Linked DNA regions of Homo sapiens: regions 1, 2, 3, 4, 5 and 7 are each linked to region 6. Evidence: promoter capture Hi-C in 16 types of primary human blood cells and fetal thymus (Javierre and others, 2016). All regions are on one chromosome and are shown on one strand. The core of a region is centred on a gene start or on the middle of the fragment in contact, and the rest is flanking DNA. Distances in the headings are between cores, read along the strand shown. Region 1 overlaps HEY2 (hes related family bHLH transcription factor with YRPW motif 2). Region 2 has its middle 6.7 kb from the start of PTPRK. Region 3 holds the start of NCOA7-AS1 (NCOA7 antisense RNA 1). Region 4 has its middle 1.8 kb from the start of TRE-CTC1-7. Region 5 overlaps HDDC2 (HD domain containing 2). Region 6 holds the start of RNF146 (ring finger protein 146). Region 7 overlaps NCOA7 (nuclear receptor coactivator 7).

The links. The method cuts DNA at HindIII sites, captures the fragments that hold promoters and counts their contacts. A CHiCAGO score of 5 or more calls a contact.
Region 1: a contact is called between a fragment that was not itself captured here and the fragment with the promoter of RNF146 in region 6, in 3 of 17 cell types (total B cells, non-activated CD4 T cells and total CD8 T cells). The highest score is 7.7, in total B cells.
Region 2: a fragment that was not itself captured here is called in contact with the fragment with the promoter of RNF146 in region 6 in 1 of 17 cell types (fetal thymus); the score reaches 5.3 in fetal thymus.
Region 3: the fragment with the promoter of NCOA7-AS1 here is called in contact with the fragment with the promoter of RNF146 in region 6 in 3 of 17 cell types (M2 macrophages, monocytes and naive B cells); the score reaches 7.0 in M2 macrophages.
Region 4: a contact is called between a fragment that was not itself captured here and the fragment with the promoter of RNF146 in region 6, in 7 of 17 cell types (total B cells, total CD4 T cells, total CD8 T cells and 4 more). The highest score is 10.4, in total B cells.
Region 5: a contact is called between a fragment that was not itself captured here and the fragment with the promoter of RNF146 in region 6, in 1 of 17 cell types (non-activated CD4 T cells). The highest score is 6.2, in non-activated CD4 T cells.
Region 7: a fragment that was not itself captured here is called in contact with the fragment with the promoter of RNF146 in region 6 in 1 of 17 cell types (monocytes); the score reaches 5.4 in monocytes.

The regions. Positions count from the first base shown.
Region 1 is chr6:125,750,936-125,754,456 of GRCh38, forward strand. HEY2 (hes related family bHLH transcription factor with YRPW motif 2) reads left to right here. Exons shown (of 5, transcript NM_012259.3): 2 at 866-944; 3 at 1,072-1,155. Among named protein-coding and RNA genes, the nearest start is that of HEY2, 3.1 kb to the left of the region's middle. The HindIII fragment of the contact is 2,286 bases long and covers 164-2,449 here.
Region 2 is chr6:128,525,733-128,528,897 of GRCh38, forward strand. No RefSeq gene overlaps it. Among named protein-coding and RNA genes, the nearest start is that of PTPRK, 6.7 kb to the left of the region's middle. The HindIII fragment of the contact is 521 bases long and covers 1,162-1,682 here.
Region 3 is chr6:125,817,356-125,820,395 of GRCh38, forward strand. NCOA7-AS1 (NCOA7 antisense RNA 1) reads right to left here and starts at 1,503. Exons shown (of 3, transcript NR_126386.1): 1 at 1,455-1,503. All of the region lies in intron 2 of NCOA7 (nuclear receptor coactivator 7), which reads left to right. RefSeq lists an enhancer at 728-1,229. The HindIII fragment of the contact is 4,548 bases long and covers 1-2,977 here.
Region 4 is chr6:125,776,802-125,780,217 of GRCh38, forward strand. No RefSeq gene overlaps it. Among named protein-coding and RNA genes, the nearest start is that of TRE-CTC1-7, 1.8 kb to the right of the region's middle. RefSeq lists a silencer at 3,368-3,416. The HindIII fragment of the contact is 156 bases long and covers 2,029-2,184 here.
Region 5 is chr6:125,292,642-125,295,970 of GRCh38, forward strand. HDDC2 (HD domain containing 2) reads right to left here. Exons shown (of 6, transcript NM_016063.3): 4 at 200-268. Among named protein-coding and RNA genes, the nearest start is that of HDDC2, 7.7 kb to the right of the region's middle. The HindIII fragment of the contact is 1,210 bases long and covers 1,443-2,652 here.
Region 6 is chr6:127,265,199-127,268,248 of GRCh38, forward strand. It overlaps RNF146 (ring finger protein 146), which reads left to right and starts at 1,666. Exons shown (of 3, transcript NM_001242850.2): 1 at 1,666-1,727. RefSeq lists silencers at 1,625-1,724, 1,825-2,094 and an enhancer at 2,295-2,354. The HindIII fragment of the contact is 5,432 bases long and covers 594-3,050 here.
Region 7 is chr6:125,835,226-125,838,373 of GRCh38, forward strand. All of the region lies in intron 2 of NCOA7 (nuclear receptor coactivator 7), which reads left to right. Among named protein-coding and RNA genes, the nearest start is that of NCOA7-AS1, 18 kb to the left of the region's middle. The HindIII fragment of the contact is 2,191 bases long and covers 653-2,843 here.

The DNA.
Region 1 (3,521 bases), core at 57-2,556, 1.5 Mb before region 6:
GAACACAAAGAAGCATAGTATCCATGAATTATGAAGAGAAACAGATACAAACTAGAAAGGATTGTAAAAATTATGTGACCAAATAATACTTTGATTGAACCTTCAATATAAAAATATATTTTCATTAGTAAATCCAAGGTGCATTGCAGCTTCTGGAGATTTAAGCTTAGCCTAAAGTCTGAGACACACCTACAGTTTCATTTTCAAAGTAAAACATTCACCTAGTAATAAAATGAGTTTTAATTTTCCTATCAGTGGCATATTTAGGGCATATTTTTGGAAGATTAGTATGCAAAACATCAAGTTTGTCAATTTTTTCCTGTTGCAATATATGACTAACTGAAGTTTTGAAACAGTAAGATAACTTCTATTTATTTTAAAGTTTGCACCTAGAGACAAGAGTTTGACGTATGACGACTGCACATCTGTTTGATAGTGGTGCTTAACATAACCCTGATTTGAAAAAGTGGCATTATTTTGTTCAGTGTGCCTGACAGGAGGGAGAAGGAAAGCTATTTGAGATTAGTTGACTTTAAAATATATGAGTGGAACTAGGAAATGCTAATATCTAACTTCTCAGCCCAACTGCCGGTAATTATTTCACTGGGAGACTTTCAAGTAAAAATTGTGGGACATTTTGGCCAATGGGTTAGCATCTGGATTACAAATTAAGGCGTAATTTTTACCTGAAAAGAGACAGCCGGGCTGAAAGCAAAGTCCGTTAAGAGTGAAACAAGAACTAAGAATAAAATAACACAGACTTGAACTGTGCAATCACTCTGAATATTTAATGGGTGCCACAAGTACCCAGAAGAAACTATTGTTATGTTAATGCAGCACCTGACATACTCTTCTTATTTCATAGGCAAAGTACTAGCTCTGTGATTAGATTGAATTCTCCAACAACAACATCTCAGATTATGGCAAGAAAGAAAAGGAGAGGGGTATGTGATTTTTCCCCCTTTTTATTTCATGTAACTTATACTATTGTGTAACAGTTACATTTTTTCATTTGAGTAATTTTATCATTTGTGAATTCATAAACTTTTGTTGTTTGCTTCTTTTGGATAGATTATAGAGAAAAGGCGTCGGGATCGGATAAATAACAGTTTATCTGAGTTGAGAAGACTTGTGCCAACTGCTTTTGAAAAACAAGTAAGCTATCCCCTCCCCAGAATCCCCCCACCCACCCCGCCACCCCCCAAAAAAAAGCTCAAACACAATCTGATTCGCTCATCTGGGAATGTGGGTTCTTGTTAAAGCTCATTAAAATAATAGTGTATGTGCCCTGATCTGGCACAGAGCAGCTATTTCAATAAAATGCTTTGTTGTGGCAAAACTATTAAAAACATAATCCATCATGAAGTTGAAAAACATTTCCATTCTTTAGCTTATTTTCCCCTTAAGGGTAACAGTGTTCATGCTTTCTCTGTTCTTTCTATGAATACCAGTAGTGGTTTTATTTAAAACTGTGCTGTATACCGTATCCTTCAAAAAAAAAAAAAAAACCATTTTTTTCTCAAAATTTTTTTAAAATGTAATATTTTTAATTAAAAAACAATCAGAGCCCAAGAAGTAACATCTCTAGCTCTATTTCCTAAATGATAATACCACTAAAATTTATTTACCAAGCCATTTGCTTTCATTTTTAATCCCTGGGTTGGTAGAATGCCATTTGATTTGGGTCATCTTTTTAGAAGTTTGGTAAAAATGAAGTTAATCATAAATGCCCCTTTTCATAGTTACCTATTCCTTTACAAAAAAAGAAAGAAAGAAAAAGATTTTGCACACTTAGAAAAGTAGAAAGCCAAATGTTTAAATCTTTTGTGGTTTTAGAAGTCATGGCTCTCCCCCTGCCGCAGTGGTTAATGACACAGATTTCTAAGAGTATCTTTCAAAGGATATGGCAGCATGTCCTTGTTGAAAATACTTTCAGTTTAATTCCAATAAGACAACAGTTGTTTGTTTATTCCATTTTGTTTGTTTACTTCATGAATCTGCAAACATTATAAAACAAGCCCTACAAAGTCCTTGGAAATTATCCAGAAAGTGCAGTTTCAATTATTAGTGACTTTACTGAATCTGCTTGTACCATTTTCATGGAAAAATTAAACGCTGACCAAATACAAAACATAATATGCTACTGATTATACATTTTTAAGACAAAAAGCACACCCAATCTATATGCAGAGACTGTGTTTGATAAACTAAAAATAATGTGGAAATTGTAGTTTTGATTAGTAGCATTTTCAGTGCCAAATAGGCTTCAAGTGAAAATGTCAGTAATCAATGATGTTTTTAAAATTTGGAAGTACTGAAATGTCTGCAGTTATGAGGCGAAGTCTGTTTGATTTTTTTTCTTGGTTTGTTAGATTTTTTTTTTCTTAAATGTTGACTTAAACCTTAAAAGCAAACATCAGTTGTTTGGCAGTTAGTTACCATAAACACAAGCTTTCCCATTTGCAGAGCTTGGCTACCAACCCAAGTGAGTTGGCCCTGTCACAATATGATTAGAAAAGTGTTCTTTAGAGCAGTTAAGTAACTCTGGCACTCTCACCGTACGTGGTGCTGATAATTTTTACAAAACAAGTAAAGCATAGGGACCTGAAATAAACCTTAGTGTCCTTAAAAAAGAAAAAAAAAGAGAACATATTGGTAATTATTTAGCTCTTCCAGGAAATGAGAAGCCACCCACAGTCCCCGAGACAGCTTGAAATGGCACATTTGTATTTCAATTGGTTACCAGAGGTTTCCTTATTCTGAAAGCAGGGACATAAAAATATATTTGCAAGACAATTTTATTAAGAACTATTTTAAAAGGTTCAAAAATCCTTAAGCATTTATGATGCTTCCTAGGTAAGCAGTAAATTATTGCTTCTTGTTTGTGAGCTTAGAAATTCACAGTGACACCTGCTGGTAATTATTGGGGAAAAAAACCTTAAAAGTCGTCCTTTTTAAAATTTTTGGATCTGCTTGAAATGCAGATCCAATTATATGGTTCTAGTGTGAATACCTTATTTCAGGACTTAGTAGGCCTGTGAAAGGACTTATTGGAGTTTTCTATTTTAAAAATATTTAACAATCAATTGCTAAAATCCTATCTCCTTATCTTCTGGAGTTGTTATGCAACTCCTCTAGACTTTGGCTTTATAGAAGACTATTGATGCCCCATAGTAAAACATATTATTAACCAAGACACAGATTGAATGCAAAGTTTGAGATTTTTACAACTGAAATCATTTTGCTGTGGTGATCTTAGGAGAATAATTATTCTTATGATTTAAAAAAGTCATTCTAGTTTCTTTTAGTCTTTAAAAGTTAAAATGGCAAATACTTGTCATTAGGTATGACATTAATTAGTGCTTTCATGTAAAGTTTGGAAAGAATTCGAAGTTTTCTGTGAAAAAATAAAAGTTGGGATTGTCTAGTGAGAGGGAAATTGAAGCCATAATGCTAAATTCAGTGTATAATGTTTCAGATTAGTTTCTGTAGGACATAGGATTATTTATTTATTTATTTAT
Region 2 (3,165 bases), core at 172-2,671, 1.3 Mb after region 6:
AAGAATAAACTCTGGGGGAAAAAATGCCTGGTCTTCACAGTAACCCAGTATGTGTTTGACAAATTATTTTTTCTGGGACAATAAATGGTGCCTTATTCTCCCTTTATGCTAGTGAGTATTTTCTATGCCCACCAAAATGTATTATGTTTTTCACGGCTCACTATAAAGAGGTATAAAGGTACCGGCTATACAGCCTCCCATTGAATCCTGTTTGAATTCTTTTGGTCTGAATGCATGAATTATCATGGGGATTTTTTTGTTGTTTGTTATTTTAGTAAAAACCAGGAAAGAGGATAACTTAAAACTAAATACATCATGCATTAAATAATAACTATATCTTGTGGGGTTAAGAGCTCGTATGCAAAGTTGCAGCCTGATGAGAATTAACACAGCTGAATAATAAATTCTCTAATGATTATGCTCCTTTCCTCCTCCCACCTACTTCTGAGGGGGGCTGGGGGACTGGCTTCACATATGGAACCCTGTGGATCTTGCCATCTTTCTTCTGTGCTTATTGTGGTCTTGAGACAGAAAGAAATAGAAGTCTGAACACAGGATGCGGTGCTTCCAAAGCTTTGGAGATTTTTCTAATCCTCCAAATGTTCTCCAATAAAATCCTCCCTTTATACTGCTGATGCCGCCACAGCATTCATAACCAGGGGAAGTCTGACAAGAAAATGAACCATTAAAACCTACACACAAACATAGGGGCTCATTTCCATGCTGAAGTCATCTTTAACCAAAGCCCAGAATTCATTTTGTCATTTGCAAGCATTTATTAAGGGCACAACACAGTGCTAGTTACTCTGTGGGGGATACAGGAGAATTAGTAGTTTACATCTGAGTTTAACAGGCAAAAAAATAAAACATAAAAAAATAAGAGACAACAAACCACTTGAGGGAAGAGGAAGATGAATAAATAAATATGTATATATATGTATGTATATATATGTATGTATATGTATGTATGTATATGCATGTGTGCAAATACATGTACCCTAAATGCGAAGGAGTATAAAGCGAAGTATTAAGTCATGGTGAAGCACAGCTGAAGGAAGAAACTTTGGGATATGGCTAGTTTTGAGCTAGATCTGAAAGAAAGTGATAGTTGTTGCAGGCAGAAAAAAAAAAAAAAGGCCTGAGGCGTAAACCACTTTGTGAAGCTTGAACTTCTTCCTTGAACACGCTTTCTGGGAAGTAGCTGGCTGTTAGTATCTGACCAAAGTGTGCCTCTCATTGACTGAACACTTGTCCATCCTGGGGATGAATTCTCATTTTTATTGATAAATTTTTTAAATCATCTAAGAAGCCTTGTTGGAAGATGCATAAAGTACACAACAGATTTCTCATAACATCAGTTTATAAGCATTTAAATCTTCGCAACTGTCTAAATAAGCCCAGAGAAGAGTTCATTAAGAAATAGCTGCACGAGCACAGTGGAGTATTAAAATCACATGCAATTTCTTTGGGGCCATAATGAAATAGTCAATTAACTTTTTTACTTGTTGACAACTACAGCTGATATAAACTAATGGTCCACTGATCTGAGCAGAAAGTCAAAGAACAACAAGTTAAAACAGTCTGAGAAAAGAATCAGAGGCTGAATTGATCAAACATAGTTTTATTTCAGTTTCCACATGATGTAAAATAGCCACTTAACTGTTTCAGATACATCCTAGAGAAGCTTGGTGAACAATGTGAATGTACATAATAAATAATATTAGCTAATATTTAAAAATACTTTACAGGGGTGGTAGGCAGAATAATAACAACATTCCCCACCTCCACTCTCAAAAAGATATGCATGATGTAATCCCTGGAAGCTGTGAATATGTCACCTCACAGGCCAAAGAAACTTTGCAGATGTTATCAAGTTAAGGATCTCGCAATGGCAATATTATCCTGGACTGTTTGCATGGGTTTAGTGTAATCCACAAGAGTCCTTACAAGAGGGAGGCAATAGAGCTGGAGTTAGAGAGAGAAGATGTAAGGATAGAAGAGAGGAAATGCTACACTGCTTATTTGAAAAATGGAGAAGGGGGCCATAAGCCAGGGAATACAAGTGTTTTCCAGAAGGTGGATAAGTCAAGAGAATGGATTCTCCCCTACAGCCTCCAGATGGAACACAGCCCTGCTGACTCCTTGACTGTAGTCTAGCAAAATCCATTTCTGACTTCTGACCTCCAGAACTGAAAGACAACAAATCTGTGTAGTTTTAAGCTACTAAATTTGCAGTAATTTGTCAAAATAGCAATCCAAAGCTAATATGCATGGATCACCTCATTTAATCCTTAAAATATTATAGCCACTTTACGGATGTGAAAACTGTTGCTCAAATAGGTTAAGCAGTTTGCTTAAGTAAATGGTGGAGCTAAACTACAGATCCAGGCACTCTGACTCCAGAGTGTGTACGCTTAAAAAATACACTGTTTTAAAAAACACTAATTTAGAATGGCAAGAATATATTGTATTACTCCATAAAGGTAAACTGTGATAGCAAATTTATAAAAAAGATATTGAATATATTTTCAATCTTCTCTGTATTCACAGTGAATACAATTCTTAACATTCCATTACAGTTCCTTTGCTATGAATGCCAGCAATCTTATATTAGTTTGATATTACATTACTTCATCAGAGGAAGACATAAACTAGGAGATAACCTTTGTCAATAGTTACCTGGATGATTAGTCATCATTTACATTTGGCATATTTCTTGTCATAACTCTCATTATGATGTCTTCTATAGATTGTAAGCTATTAGAAAGCTGAGACTGTATTTCCTCTATGTTCTACAAGGACCACAGCCTATGTCATCCCATGTACATGTTTGCATGTGTAGGTCATAATGAGTCTGTTGGTCATTAATGCTGAGGATCATTGCCTCCTTAAGAATTAAACTTTTGTTTCATTGGTTGCTGGGCTGTCATTCTAATGTCGTGGAAGTTGAGGATTCTGTATTGTTTGTCATTATATCCCTGCCCATAATACAGTGGTCATATAGTTATTCAATTAACTGTAGTTGAGAAATGAATGCATGAGCAGACTTTCTAAAGCCAAGCAGCTTTGGAAAAGTCTGGCAGGAGAAGATGTTGAATTTTAAGAAAATGAAGGAAGAAATCCCTTGAAAGAAGGCTTAAGAATGATTGAACAGAGAAAGAAAAT
Region 3 (3,040 bases), core at 253-2,752, 1.4 Mb before region 6:
AATGGTTGTAACATTTGACATTCCCATCAGCAAAGTCTGAGTAATCCAGTTTGTCTGCATTGTCATTTGGTGGTGTCAATATTTTTTATTTTTATCTTAGCTATTCTGATAAGTATGTAGTGATATCTCATTATGGTTTTAATTTGTATTTCCTTAATGGTTAGTGAAGTTTAACATTTTCATGTGCTTATTATTAGCCATAGTGTATCTTCTTTAGTGGCATCTCCTTTCCTATCTTTTGCCCATTTTCTAATTGAATTGTTTAGGTTTTTACTGTTGAATTGTACACATTCTAGTCTTTTGTTGGATATGTGATTTGCAAATATTTTCTCCCGGACTGTAGTTTGTCTTTTCATCCAGTTAACAGAGTTGCAGAGCAAAAGGTTTTAATTTTGATGTGGTTCAATTTATCAGTTTCTCCTTTTATGAATTGTGCTTTTGGTCTGAATTCTAAGATCTCTTTGCCTAGCTGTATGTTCTGAAGATTCTCTCCTGTTTTTCTTTTCTGAAAATTTTATAGCATTATGTTTTATATTTAAGTCTGTGATCCATTTTGAATTTATTTGTGGATAAGATATGAGTTTAGGTCAAAATGGTGGTCATGCTTCTCCTCCCCTTCCTCCCCGTCTCCCTTCCTCACCTCCTCCCTTTCTTCCTGCTCCTCTTCCTGCTCCTCTTCCTCCTCTTCTTCCTCCTCCCCCTTCCCGCTTCTCCCCCTTCCTTCTTTCTCCCACCTCCTCCTTCCTCCTCCTCCTTACTTTCTTCTTCTTTCTTTTCTTTCTTCTTCACTTGCCCTACATAGTGATTTTAAGAGCTATAGTGCCTTCTCAGCCTGAATCCAAAGTGATTCCTGTAGTAAAGGTAACTGCCGGTTCATGAACAACCTGCTCAATGTTAACCTCTTCTTGTTCCTAAAATGTAGAGTCAGGGGAGCCCCTGAAACTGAGAATACAAACCAAAACTGTTCTGGAAGAGCAGCACAGTTTTTTCAACTCAGAAATGTAAAATTGTCTTGCTTATCATGACCTCTTCTGAAAAGTATTCTAAAAATGAAACAAAAAACGTATCCTAAAATGCTGAAATGTGATCTTGGGAGCATAGGGACAGTGGCACAAGGATGAAATCAGTGATGCTCTTAAGACAGTAAGACAACATGATTTGTAACTAGGAAATGAGAGAGATGGAGAGAGGAGAATGGAGAGAAGAGGGGGTAGGAGCAGGGAGAGAGAGAAAGAGACAGAGAGAGAAACACTGACTGACAAACCTGTAGTTTAGCTCTTACAATGCAGTGGAAGCCAGAAATGGTCAAGCTATTAAAAGCAAAAGGCAAACCAAAGAGAAAAGAACCCCCTTCAGCCTATAATCAGAAAAGAGCCATCCAAAGTTATACATCTTTTCAAATGCCTTCTGACTTAACTGTGGAATTACCATGTGGAACTAGCAACAGAACTTACTTGAAAGCTGGTTTCTGACAATGTAGAGCAGAGTTCTCTGGAGCAGCGTACTTAAGGGCAGTCCAAGCAAGATCTCTGGAGAGAAGGATAAAATGTCAGGCCAAGGGTGAGGCCAAACTGATGCAATCTCAGTTTTCTCTAAACTAAATTATACCACCTTACATAAATCTCAACTGGTGTTCTGAGGAAGTCAAAAGGAAGATTTACCCTGATGCTGTGCCTGCTGCCACAATTACATATCTGAAACCCTAAAAACTGCTTTTTAGCCTGCTTCCCCCTTCCACCTAGGAAAAACTAGGAACACCTAGTTTTTCCTCCTGAGTAGTTAAATAGCCAATGTTTTCTTTGTGTGCTATCTTATCATGTGGTTTCATAATCGTTGTGTGACTGTGTTTGATAAATAGTCCTTTGCCAAACCTGTTTTGTTGACGTTTCGCTCTTTAACATCAAAATAGAGTTTAAAATACCCTATTTTAATAATTTTGGATTGAAATTAGTGATTTGAGGGTCACCCAGTCTTTCCTTTCTTATAATTTATCTTGAAATATGCCTGTGTAACTCTAAATAGAGGGGTGGATTAATACTGCTACTAGATAGAGTAATTCTGGATAAGACCTGATGAATTTTTTGGATTTTCTGACCCTGGTCCAACTGGTTTTCAGGTGCTTCAGGATAGTTTTATAACAGTTGTTAAATCTAGATTGAATGATTTGTGAAACTTTTTCACAAATGGTTTTGCAAATAATTTATATATGCAAAATTAGTATATGTCTATATTAATTTCTTGATCCCTGACAGGTCTTGAAAACCAAATGAAAAACTGAATTACTAAAGCAAATTATACTTTCTGTACTATTTGTACTGTGTACAATTTATGCTATCCTCTGGGGTGACTATCATGTGTCATTTGTTACACCCCTGCTGACTCTTCCTTCCCCTTGTAGTTAGAATGCAAAATTTTCTTTAGTATTGCCATACAGGGCTGTCTTCTTACACACTTGCTTGACATTATTTGGCTTTTGTGATTTCCGAGTAGGTCCTTGTATGCCATTGGTTGAAGATTCTTTGAAAGCATTTTTTCAGGATCAAGCGTTGATTGAAGATATCCAAAATACATCTGTAGTTGAACCAAATGGTGTTTTGTGGGAGGTTTACTTTTCCCCTCTGATAAGGTGTGAGAGCCTGGGAGTAAACAGTGAGTAATATAGACGAAGACACAGACTGGGTGTTCATGTAGGTCCCTTGTTGGCTCCCACCTCCCCTATTCCCTGGTTGTCATGAAAAGCAGAACTGCTGCTCCCACCTCCGCTTTCCTCTTAACCCAGCCTTTCAGAGCAGCAGTAGGAGCCAGCACCACCTCTGTCATCATTCTCAGTGACAAAGGATGCAAAGTGTAGAACATTTCTTAGCTCCCATCTCCAGCCTCTGCCCTGGCAATTCTTCACCCTTGAACCTCTGACCCACAAGCAGAACACCTAGTGTTTGCAGTTCACTCCAGTGTATAACCTCTGGCAAGTCTTCTAAGCTTCCTTTACCTTACATTTCTTCAGTTGTTAAATGTTGCTAAAAATAACCAACTAACAAGA
Region 4 (3,416 bases), core at 857-3,356, 1.5 Mb before region 6:
TTCATTTCCCCACACCTTGGCCCCCTTGTTTTTTTTTTTTGTTTTTTTTTTTCTGCACCAATCTCTTGGCAATCATTTCCACTATTGAGGCTTCAGTTCTCACTGCAGAGCTGGATCTACTTGAAATCTATCATCATTAGTCAAACATATCAACCCATGTACAAGACAGCTTCACTTGGGTGACCTCTCTTCAGTCCAAATCTAAATGCAACATGGCTTCCTCTATTGCCCACCCCCACCCCCGTCTCAAACAGCACCCTTTCTAAATTAATAGGCCATGATCAAAACCTTAATGATTTTCTCCTTTGATTCCTATTCAACTGTCATAGAAACAGTCTTGTTCACTTTTCTATACCTGTGCATGCAAAGATGACTGGCATGGAGTAAGAATTACATAAGTGTTTGCTAAATTGATGAATGAATGACAATAACTCTGTGAAGTATGCACGGATGCATGCAAGTTAGTGTCTCTCTTGTACTCCTTAGGATCCAGAGGCTCAGAGAGCTGGGTCACTTAACCCAGATAATGCAGCTGATATTGGCACAGTCAGGGTTAATTCACAGTCTCTGGCTCTGGAATAACAGATCTTATTTTCATAAGATCTCTTTTTCTTCGCTATATTCGCCCTTCTGCAGCGTGTAGGTCATAAATAAGGTTGTTGTCTCTCACATTAGTCCCTCAACACCTTGAATCATGTTTCTGGCAATGATCTCCTGGATAGACTTCCTTACTGTGGTATGGGCTCCACCAGTCTGTTCTGTACCCAACAGTCACTGTCTTACCATCTGACTGTGCTTAATCTCCTCCGTTTTCTCCTTGATCTCTTTACAGTATGCTCTTTTCTTCACCGCTACTTCCTTCTTGAAGCTCTCTTATCCTTTTATTACTACCTCTCTGACTACTCTTCCTTTTTTTTTTTTTTTTTTTTTTTTTTGAGACAGAGTCTCTCTGTCGCCCAGGCTGGAGGTCAGTGGTGCGATCTTCTTGGCTCACTGCAAGCTCCGCCTCCCACGTTCACGCCATTATCCTGCCTCAGCCTCCCAAGTAGCTGGGACTACAGGCGCCCACCACCACAAGGGCTATGTATTTTTTTTAGTAGAGACGGGGTTTCACCGTGTTAGCCAGGATGGTCTCGATCTCCTGACCTCATGATCCTCCCGTTTCGGCCTCCCAAAGTGCTGGGATTACAGGCGTGAGCCACCGCGCCCGGCCCCTCTCTGACTACTCTTTCACCATTTTCTACCTCTTCCCCTTCTTCTTTAATGTATACTCTCCTGGGTTTTTTCCTTGGTCCTCTCTCCTTTTTATAGGTTTTTTCTTTGGGAAGAGCTCAAATCTTCTCAAACTTTTAAGTTAATGGCTCCAAAATCTCTCCCTTCTACCCTAATTATCACCAAAATTCCCATTCTGTATTTCCAACCACATTTAGTTGTGCTGCCTCTGTGGGGCTCAAACTGAACTTACCTTCTCTTCTTCATCAGTTTCTCCATCTCAACCTTCCTATTACTTTTAATGCCACCCCAGTTTTACTAGCCACACAGAACAAATCAAGGATTCATAACTGATTCCTCCCTATTCTTAACCCTTTATATCCTATCAGACATCGAGTCCTCTTGGGTTCCCTTCGTAATTTCTTGACTTGTCTTAAGGTCTTCCATAATCTAGCTGCAGTCACCTATCTGCCCTCATCTCCACTGTTCCCCAGCGCAGGTTCCCTACTACAGCCAGTCTGACACAGTTAGTCCTTTTCGTTGCAAATACTAGACCATGGTCATCCTGGATCCCTTAGAAGCAATGTCCATTCTCCTTTTCTCAGGCATTCCGGATACTTCTAGCCTTTAGGTCCAGCTTGAAAAACAGTTTTCAAGCTCTATTTTGATTCTAGTGCTCACTTCCTTCTCCCTTCTTTTACCATATATCGTGATTATTTGAAGTACTTGATATGCAGCAAATAATCAATGAATGGTGCCAATTATTTTTGTTAATGGTGGCAACATATTTTTGTCTTAATTATCCAATGAAGTGAAAGCTTCTTAAGCACCAAAAATCACATCTTTTCTTAACCCCATGGCACCTATCACAATGGACTTCCTGGAACATTAAGTACTCAGCATTCTCCTCTTCCCAATCAGTCTCAGCACAGCTAAAAGGAGAGCAAAACAAACTCATTTTAGTTGCAATCAAGCTTTCAGTCTGTTTCTATGCTATGATGAAATTTCTCCTTAAAAAAAAAAGGCGGGGCCGGGCGCGGTGGCTCACGCCTGTAATCCCAGCACTTTGGGAGGCCAAGACAGGAGGATCACGAGGTCAGGAGATCGAGATCATCCTGGCTAACACGGTGAAGCCCCGTCTCTACAAAAAATACAAAAAAAAAATAGCCGGGCCTGGTGGCGGGCGCCTGTAGTCCCAGCTACTCGGGAGGCTGAGGCATGAGAATGGCATGAACCCGGGAGGCGGAGCTTGCAGTGAGCCAAGATCGCGCCACTGCACTCCAGCCTGGGCGACAGAGAGAGACTCCGTCTCAAATTAAAAAAAAAAAAAAAAAAATCCAACAGCTCAGTAAGTGGCAAAGGTTAGGATGGTTTAGAACTTTCAGGATCAAAAAAACCCTTAATGTCTATATAACACTATTTTTCTTTTTTTGACTCCAACATTGCCATATTTTCCTTTGAGGAACTCCCAGAATTCTACTTTACCCTGAATGTGGGAATTACTAATGATAAGTAGGTGCATTTTTGAGGGGCCTATATGGTTTATATAGTGGGAATTGATACTCTGGATGTAACACATTTACCATATTTGTGTAAATCTCTTAGAGAAAATTTAAAGTTAGCCAAAAAAACATTAACTAAATGGGTTATTAAAACACAATAAACTAGCTATGTCCAACCATACATCTCAGAAAAGATCTCATATTTATAGAGATGAGAGTAGGAATAGCTCCAATATAGGCAAATAATCTCCAAAGTACATAATCTTAATGTACAGAAAAACTAAAAATTAACTCTAAGCATGATACTGAATAAGTATTATTCCTCATAAAACTATCTTCCTCTTTTATTAGTCAAACAAAATCAAGGTTAAACAAAGGCTTAACTGACTGCTTGTAAACACATCCAAATTATTTTTAAAAACTGAAAAATACAATTTTAGAATCACAGAACTTTATGTTATTTGATTGATTATAAATTACATTACCTGTAAATAGAGATGGCGTATTTTAAGCCTTAGATTAAATAAACTTTTAAAACGGTCAATTTTTAATGATTAAAAAACCCCAACAAGCGAATGAAAAGTACATAAAACTTATGATTTAAAAAGAAAAAAAAAACTATAAAGAAAAAAAAAAACTATGAAAAAAAAACCCAACCAGCAAGTGAAAACTACACAAAACTCTTGACTTCTAAATTGCATG
Region 5 (3,329 bases), core at 798-3,297, 2.0 Mb before region 6:
AATGGGGAACTTGGAGAGATACAAAATTTCTATCCATCAGGAGAAATTTCTGCAGCAGCTGGGAAGTGAGAAACAGACACAAACCAGACAGTAATAAGTTAGGGACCGCTTGTTAAGATCATCTAAGTCAAGTACAACATCAGGGAGCCATATAAATTCAGATACAAATTAAAAACAGTAACGTACCATATATACTTACTTCCCAAAGTTCATAGAGCTCCTTTCTGAGGTCCTCTGGTAGGAGCTGGGTTATCTGCTTCATAGCTTCCTGAAATATTAAACCATTATCTTTAATTATATTGACATTTATCACAGTTAACAACCACTCTGCAACAGACAAATAGGTTCGGATTCTTACAAACAACTCTCACAGGGGCAGCAGAGTAAATTGGCCTATACTGGACAATATTTATAGCTTGTGAGGAAGGCAGGCAGTTGTATACCTTAAATAAATAAGTGTAATCATTCATATGGGCTTCGCTTAGCACCTCTTTTGTGGTCTACAACACAACAGACATAGAAAAGGACAATGAGGAGGTCATGAGACAATTACAGAAATATCAGAGGTGTTCAAGGATTTTACATCTGTGGATAAATCACAACATACCCACATACATTTCAATCATAAGCATATGAGAGTTCAAAACAAACCTGAGTGGGGAGAATGGGAAAGGAATACTGAATTACAAAGCTCAAAGAGATTTTTTGTATATTCATTTTCTATTGTTAACATGTTTTTATTGCAAGATGTAAAGTACAATACAAATGAGCGATTATTGCCATTAACATAAACGAAGTTACATGATAGAATTTTGTAGGCTCACAGACTCACAGGCTGAAAAGGGATATTAAACGGCAATTAGCTAAACCATCCATGTAGTATCTGAACCCTTCAATAGCATCATGGAACAGTTCTATCCTCTTTCCAAAAATGTGTGCATTGGTAGGGAGCCTAGTACCTCAAGAGGCTGCCTTAGACAGTACTGGCAGAAATTATTTTCTTATATCAAGCTGAAAATTTTCCCTGTAGTTCTTCTACCACACCTAACCCATCCCTCCTGCTTTCCTCTCTAACCCACAAACACAACGTCAAACAGGTGGACAGTGACCCCGCTGGGCTGGACTATCTGTGGCCACAGTGACTGGTCTAAGAGATAATCTTATAATTCAAACCAGGCATTCAGGGGCCATCTGCATTTGTCAAGCAGAGGCTAGGAGAGAAGCCATATTCCCCACCACAAGGAGAAGCGTTGAGAGTTAGCCAAAACCTAATGAAAAGCAGAGACAAAATAAGAGTAGAGGGTGTCCTGTACTTCTAGGCTTTCTGTACTTTCTGGTCTCAAAGATCCCAGGAGCTACCCTTATCCTCCAGTCTTCTCCTTTATTTATGAGTTACTCCAGTATCCTTCCTTTATTTCTGAATTACTCCAGTACTCTCAAAAAGCTTCAAATTCCTTCACCACCTTCATCCCATACCTTTTAATCAGCCTCAGTTCTTCTAACCACAGAGGTTAGGCTCTTTGAACGGAATATGGCTATAAAAACCATTTTTGGCAATATAAAGGTCTTACATAAAATAAAATAGTGAGTTGCAGGAAAGCAGTGAAAATAAAATTGGACATTTGTGTGTATATTTATTTATTACTGGGAGAAAAAAAATGTTACAGAATACAACCACTTCCAGAGCAAACCACATTTGCCAATGTCAACAATCCACTCTTATAAATAACATCACCATCTTGAATGGCTTGTTCAGTTACAGAGTGGTAGCATCACACTACCCTTAGTAGGAAGGAATTTAGCTTATGTTGTACATGCATTCTCCCTTGTTTCTTTTTCATAAATTTCAGCAAGAATACTTGAGAAAATACTTTATATTTTCACAAATTAACTGTGTCTTTATAGATTCCTTTTCTCTACACTATTGCAGAAACACAAGTTTGCCAATTACTTCCAGTTGAAAAGAATGAACTAAATCATATGTACATACAGGTATATGAACATCTCAACTGTAGAATGCAAACATGAAAGTCCTGCTCTGACAGGAGACTATTTTATTCTCTTTAAAATGACACACCTAGAACTGAATACAGTGATATATGTATGATCTGACCAAGGTGGAAGAAAATGGAATCATCACCTTCCTCATGCTAGATACTATATTCCTTTAAGTGCAGTGTAAGACTGAATTGGCTTTTTGGTGATCACATCCAATTACTAAGTTATTAATAGGCTTCTTTTTGTTCAAAATCACCATATTCTTTAAAAAACAAAACAGCAAATACGTTGTTGCTCTCTTCCTGAAACTGAACTATGATTTTCTGAATCTAGGCTGATTGATATTTGTTAATCACACAATCAGAATAGCATTTTTGAAACCTTGTAGAGAGTTAATATTCTTTGTTTGGCAGCACATGCCAGAATCATGCCTTTTTAATTGAACCCTCTGAAATCAACATGGCTGAGGTCCAGGGTACACAGCTGAGTATGCCAGCCTTTCCCTTCCTGGCAAGCGATGAGCCCTGACACTTCCACTTCTATACTGAGTTTCACCTTGTTGTTCAGTCATAGATTTAGAGTGACAGCTTCCCTAGCCTCTTCCTCTGTTAGCAAAATATGTCAAAAATCTGCCTAAAGTGCCGAGCTGAATGAAGCTTTCAGCAAATATTTTGTGTCAGTTTTGTGACAAGTAACTGGAAGGTATTATTCATCATTCAGACACTGATGAGGCTGAAGAGTGTAGTAGTCAACTGAAGACCAGATCCAGACTGGGTTTCAAACCCGGCTCGCCATTTATTAATACTAGCTGTGGAACCCTGAGCAAGTCATTTGACCTCTTTGTCCTTCAGGTTTCTCATCTACACAGTGGGGTTAAATATTGGTACCTACCTAAAGGGATCATAGGGATTAAACAGTTAATACACATATAAAGTGCTTATTATTGGCACATAATAAGCACTTTATAAATCTGCCACATAATAAGCACTCTATAAATGTTTGCTGTGTTTTTCATTTTCTCCTTCTTGTCATACTTACTCTATGATAAAGTTCCATTCTCTTTGTAATCTCCAAGTTCTTTAGCAACTTTAACCCTCCCAGACACAGGCATACCACGACTCTGCCCTCTGTTTCAATAAGGTTTCCCCTTTGCAAAGGAATATGACCTGCCACCATTATATTCCAGCTTCAAGTTCCACCTCACTAGATCACAGTGATCCTTATCAGACATCATTTATCAACCTGCATTATCAACCTGCATAATATCAAGTGTATGTTAATATGTTTAGGAATGAGGCCAGACTACAAGTATTGCTTTTGGCTCCTTTCTA
Region 6 (3,050 bases), core at 416-2,915:
AAGGAGTGGTACGATCTCACTTCTTTTTAAGTAGATTTATTTAGGATTCTGTATTAAGGATAGAGTCAAAAGACTAGTTCCTGGTCTACCGTAACACTATAATCCAAACAAGAGATGATGCAGATTGTAGCGGAGGTGGTAAGTAGTTGGATATACTTTGAAGGAAGAGCCAACAGGTTATATGCCAAATGCATATAAGACATAAAAGAGAGGAGTTAAAGGTGGGTTTGAACAAGGAAAGATGCAACCATTTACTGAAATACAAAGACCTTGGGTATGAGTGAGAAGGGGTTGAACTAGCTGACATCTTACAGTCTGTGCCTGGATTCAAATCTCAGCTGTGTGTGTCTCTCTCTCTGTAAAATGGGAATAATAATAGTGCCTACCTCATAGTTTATTATGAGAATTAAGTGGGTATATATGAATAAAGCACTTAGAGCAACACCTGGCACATTGTTAGTTAATATTAGCATTACCTCTTCAAGCTGGAATCTTCGAGTACATATCAAATTTTAGCTATTCTCTGTTCATGGGCTGTGTAGGATAGAGGGACAAAACTGAGTGGCTAATAAGAAGATAAAGATAGAAAACTAAGCTTAAAGTTAAAGGATATACACTTCAATATTTCTACATGTATGGAACAGTATTGCATACACGCGCAAGCATCACTGAACTAGATGCACCCTTCAAGAGATTGGGTTACATATTGATATATATGAATGAGAACCCTGAAATAAACTGATTTCAGAGGAATAACAGAAAACATATACATTTCTATACCTATAAGGACACTGAAAACTTCCAATCCTGAATCAAACAGTTAATGAAATCCCAAAATGCAACACTAATGCAAATGAGAAGACGCTGTCATAGAATGTTGAAATACATACTCTTCTAAAGATAAAAGGTCTGCTCTTCCACCCTCTTCATTTTCCTACAAATTAGGAAAATTTAATCAGTTCTGAAAAAGGAAATGTACATGCTAAAATGGTGAATTACTGCTAGAGTTCTGATGTTTAAAACCACAGGCTTGCGATCAAAATAACCTCTTTAATTTTAGATTATCATGCAGATTAATTTCTTCAGTTTCTCAGGCACTATTCTGTTTTTTTTAAAAAAAGGGTGGGGTTTCAAAAGAAAACTAATACTCATTTTTTCCCCGATTAAATTGCTCAACCATTAAAAAGGAGAACAAATTGGAAAGTCCTACAGTACTCTCTCCCCTCCGTCCCCCCCCTCCCCATTTTTTTTCTTGAAAGGGAACAAGCAGTACTTTTGCTAAGGGATCTTTAAGCCGAAACTCAGCTAGGCGCCCCAGAGCTTCCTCAGGATAGCAAAGCTGGATTTTTGAGCAGCACCACCTGCTGGTCCTACACACGTTTTACTTCCTCCACCCCAAATCTCTTTCTGTTGGAACTGCACTCTTTCAGAGCCTCTGGGCCCTAATACAAAGCAAGCACACTCTAAAGAAGCCAGAAGAATGCAAGCAGCGAAGTCGCCGCTCCCCACAGGCAAGAGAGTACCGGCAGACAGCGGCGCGAGACAGGGGCAGAACGATGAGGCGCCGGAGTTAGCTCGCCGGTGCGGGTGCGGGTGCGCGGCGCGTCGCGGCCCCTCCTCCGCGACGCGCCGGGTGGTCACGTGACGGCCGCGCGCGTTCCCGGCAGCTGCGGGCTCCGAGGCCAGAGAGAAAAGACTGCGAGGTGGCCGCAGCTGTGGCCGGAGAGGTGGGAGTCGGAGCGAGGCCCTCTCGGGGGAGCAGGGTGAACGCCGGCCACTCTAGGATCCTCACTCGGGGAGAGGAGGCATAGCTCGCGGTGTCACCTCCAGCCGCAACGTACTCCGGGTCGGCCTTGCGCTCGGGGCCTGAGAGGGGCGGCGGCGGGGTCAGGGGCCGGTACGTAGATGGACGCCCTTGGGCTGGCGCGGCCCCGGCTGTCCGCGCAGAGGCGGGATGGGACAGTTCAGCCCTTTCCGCCACCCCCGCCTTGGCTGCTGGGGCAGGCAAGACGACCGTGACAGCCCCTGCGCTGCCCGAGGGCGCCGCAGCCCCTGCCCTGGGTGACGGCCGGAGCTGGTCTCGGTCCGGGTGCGAGGGGCGGAGCAGCGGCCATTACTGCGCAGCCTCTTCCGCCTGAGCCCGCTTCGCTGCCTCGGGTGGCAGGCGGGTCCCTCTCCTCCCCTCTGGGCCGTGGTTTTAGGCCTTTACCCGGGGACCTTCTGGCCTCGAGGTGTAGGGGCGGCGATGGTTTTTCGGCGGTAGCCTGCTCCATGTTTTCCCGTGTGGGGTCAGACAGTTTGGGCCTTGGGTCAGATCGAAGCCAGGGCGTACAGTCTGCATTTTTGCCTTTTCCCGGAGTGTCTCTGGCTGCTGCTTTCTCTTCTCTCGCTCTTCCTCCTTTTTTTTCTCCTGCTCAGTGTCTCGGTCTTGCCTAAAACGAAGAGAGCAATCCCTGCACCTTGTCCTAGTGAAGCCCAGCGCTGCATATTCTTAGTTGTTTTTGACGGCTGTTGAAGCATCGGAACAATTAAGAGATCTCAGAATATCCCTTGAGCCTCCAAACCCTCTGCATCTTAAAAGCTGAGGCTGTTGCTTTGTTCTGATTGTTGGGTGGGGAGTTCTCTTCCTACCCTCCATCCCGTCTGAAGGAGTGTGGGTCTTCCATTGTTGTCGCTATTTATTTTGCTAAGGCTTCTAAAGAATGTAAAATTGTTTTAAGAGTGGAGACGGAACCGTCCTCTCCACAGGTAAAACCTACAGGACTGTAAGTTTACACACACATCCTGGCAACTAGAATCTTTTCTCGTTAATCATATTGGTATATGTTTTAATTTATTTTCTCTAAGTGCCATTTTAGTGAGCACTTATTTCTCAAGTTTTGAACATTTTGTTTAATATTTTTGTAATATCGAAACAGTGTAGAACTGAGGAGAGAAGAAAGCCCAAAGATGATAGGGTACGCTTTGTTCTTTGTATGATTGGCATTTCAGGTAGTGGGCACATCCCCCCCACCTCGTGTGTGTACTTTTCAAATGGGATGTGAACGTAT
Region 7 (3,148 bases), core at 498-2,997, 1.4 Mb before region 6:
CTGCTAAGTTTCCAAGTATCATCCAAACCCAGCTCAGCCAATCCACATTTTTGTGTTGTTGGCATGGAGCAACCTTACTTACGCAAATTCCTGTAATAGTCAGGAAGCTCTTTCCCCTTTCTAGGTCAAGTAACAGAAAACAGATCAGACTACCTTAGGAGAAAAAAAAAAAGGAATATGGAGTTTCTGGTTCACATAAGTAAAAAGTCCCAGATAAGATTTGACATCAGGAATGCCTGGATTTGGGACTCAAATAATGTCATTATGACTCAGTTTGTCTGTATCTAAATCCTTCCTTTCTTTTAGCTTCCTTTTTCAGGCTTTACTTGATAAATGCTGCTAAGTCAGAATCTCTATTATGCAACAGCAGGCAAAGCAAATGCTTGCTATTAGGTCTCACAAGTCCTGAGACTCACAGGGATTGGACCAACTTAGAGCCGGTGCTAGGTTTTGGAGTAGTGGCTGCCACTGGCAGAGGCAGAGACTCAGTGCTTTGATTGGACAGGCCCACATAAAGATGTCCTTCCTGGAGCTAGGATGAGTCCTACCCAGATCTGGTATTACAGAATAAGGAATAGATTGTAGGGAGGCCATTGAAATCTACTGCAGTTTTCTGTAGTATGTCAGGCACTGTACTAGGCACTGGATTTAAAGCTTTTAAAAAGGAGAATGACATGCTTTGAGTCTCAGTGAGTTTTTAGACACTGTACATGTCACTGTAAATATCATAGTTAATTCCATCATTGAATGGATGATTTGACAAGATAACCTTTAAAGAACTTTCCTACTTGAGATTCTATGATTTACGCTTCTTGGAAACAAAATGGAAAAGGTACAAATTCTTTCATTAGTTTAGGTAATTATATTTTCATCTTAAACTGTTTTAGAATTTTTAATATTGTGACAGCTTTATGTAGAATTCAGAAAACTCAATTTAGTGTTTAATACCACAACTCCACTAAAACAGTATCTGAATATAGAAAAATTAATTTATGAATAAAGAGCACTTTAAAAAATGTATAGTTGTCATGCCAGGGACATAATGGTTGGTAAATATGAATTTTCATTTTTGCTGATGCCATTGTGAAGTTGTAATGTATACATGCGTTAAAATATTGAGCCCCTCTTTTTAAGGGACCCTTTGATGTAGATGATTAAAGATTGAAGATTCTTTGGTCTAATCCATACAAACAGCAATGAAATTTTCCCTGATTTGGCTTTTGTTTGAACTGTAGCTGATATACTCCCTGCAGAGTCTCAGTAATAGTTAAAAACATATTTATTTTCCCCCATCTGATAAAATATTGTTATCATTCCATTTTGGTTTTCTTCAAAACCGCCTTTAACTCAGCCAAAATAAAGTCCAGCTGAGTTTTCTTATGGCTTAATGCAGGAGTATGGAAATCCACAGGAAATTTGGATGACTATTATTCCAACATTACAAATGTTCAAGAGAGTTTTAGAAACTGTATTGAAATTAAAAGGAATGCCTGGGAGCAGAACATTTAAAACCACATAAACAAGTACACATCTATGAGAAATTACCTTGCCTTTTATCAACAACTACTAAAAAATAAAAAAGAACACGTAGTAAAATCAAAGCAAAACTTTCTTGGTAAAGTCTGCTACTGGAGAGGGTGCTTGATAACTTAGTTAATTTCATATTAGGAAGTTGGTTGCACCTGTGTGTGCCAGGTGACATATTAAGTATGAAGAAACATTTATGATAGGAAATTCCAGCTCTCCATTTGGGGCAAAGTGTTCAAGCAGTGGGGAATTGTTAGGTCTTGGGGTAGTTATCTCCTCACAAAATACCTTACATTATTCTTTAAATTAGATAAATGTTGAGTGAAGTTTGATTTCTCTCATTGTATGTGTGTAAAGCGACTTTGCTTGAGAAATTAGCCTAAAAGTCTATGTAACATGGTCTGATTCAAGGTTTATATCAATTTATGAAATTTGACATAGATAACTTATAATTAGCCTGCTTCATCTTTCCCGGATTGAAGTTTGTTTCTCATTCATTCATTCATTCATTCATACATGCTCCACCTTTAAGGCATCTTCAGAAAAGTACACGTGTGTCACCTGTGTATAACCAGCCATGCCTTGGTCCAGTCCCAGGATTAAGTCACATTCAAAGAAATAAGTATATCAGAGAAAATAATTGAAAATAAATATTTACTTCACCTTTCAGAAAACATCCAAGGGGGTAATAAATGCCATATATTTGATAAAACTTTAAAATCCTCTTTCTCCATCTCTCTGACCTTTTACATGTCTCTCAGCTACTTCCCCAAACTCTTTCTCCTTTTTGAAACCCTTCCCATATCCAGTCAGTGTATCTCCTCATGTCCTTACCTTTTCCCCTTCTTTCCTTTTAGGTTTATTTTCTTCTATTTCTTCTCTCACTATATTTCTTTTTCCACTTCTCCCCCTAATTCATTTCCCACACCTGTGTTCATAAGCTCAGAACCAGGAAAAGGAAACAAACCCAGAGTTCCCTTAGGAGGCAGCATGAGGAAGGAGGCTGAGATCATCCATATGCTATTATATTTTCTCATCATTGCACTTATTAAAGAAATTACGATATACTATTTAAAAATGGAAAGTCCAGACCAGGGAACATATAAATTGGCATGAAAAATGGGACAGTAAATTGCATGCTGCTCTTAGTTGTATGACTGATGCAGAACTACTTCATGGTCGGTGTTAAAAAGGGACTCCTTCCCATATTTCTTCCTCTTAATGAGTAGAGCACACGCCAGTCCCTTTGATAACAAAGCCCTTCCTAGTCCTTAACTCTCTAGGGGCTAAGGAAAAACTTCCCCTTCACCCTCTGAAGCTTCACTGAAAAATGAACTCATAAAAGGCAGATTAATAAGAGAGAAGCATACAATTTTTTTTTAACATTCATGAGGAGAACCCAAGTGTTTGGGAGACCATGAAGTGTTTACCCAAGCCTACAATGGGGTGCAGAAGCTTCTATACCATCTTGAGGTCACGGAAAGAATGGGGCTCAGGGCATGGCCAAAAATCAAGATTACAGTGGCAAGATAGATTATGGGGAAGGAAAGAAGAGGAGGAGGCCTGGCTTGTGAAGGTAGTCTTGTTATACAGATGAAACCTGATAGGTGGCAGCCATCAG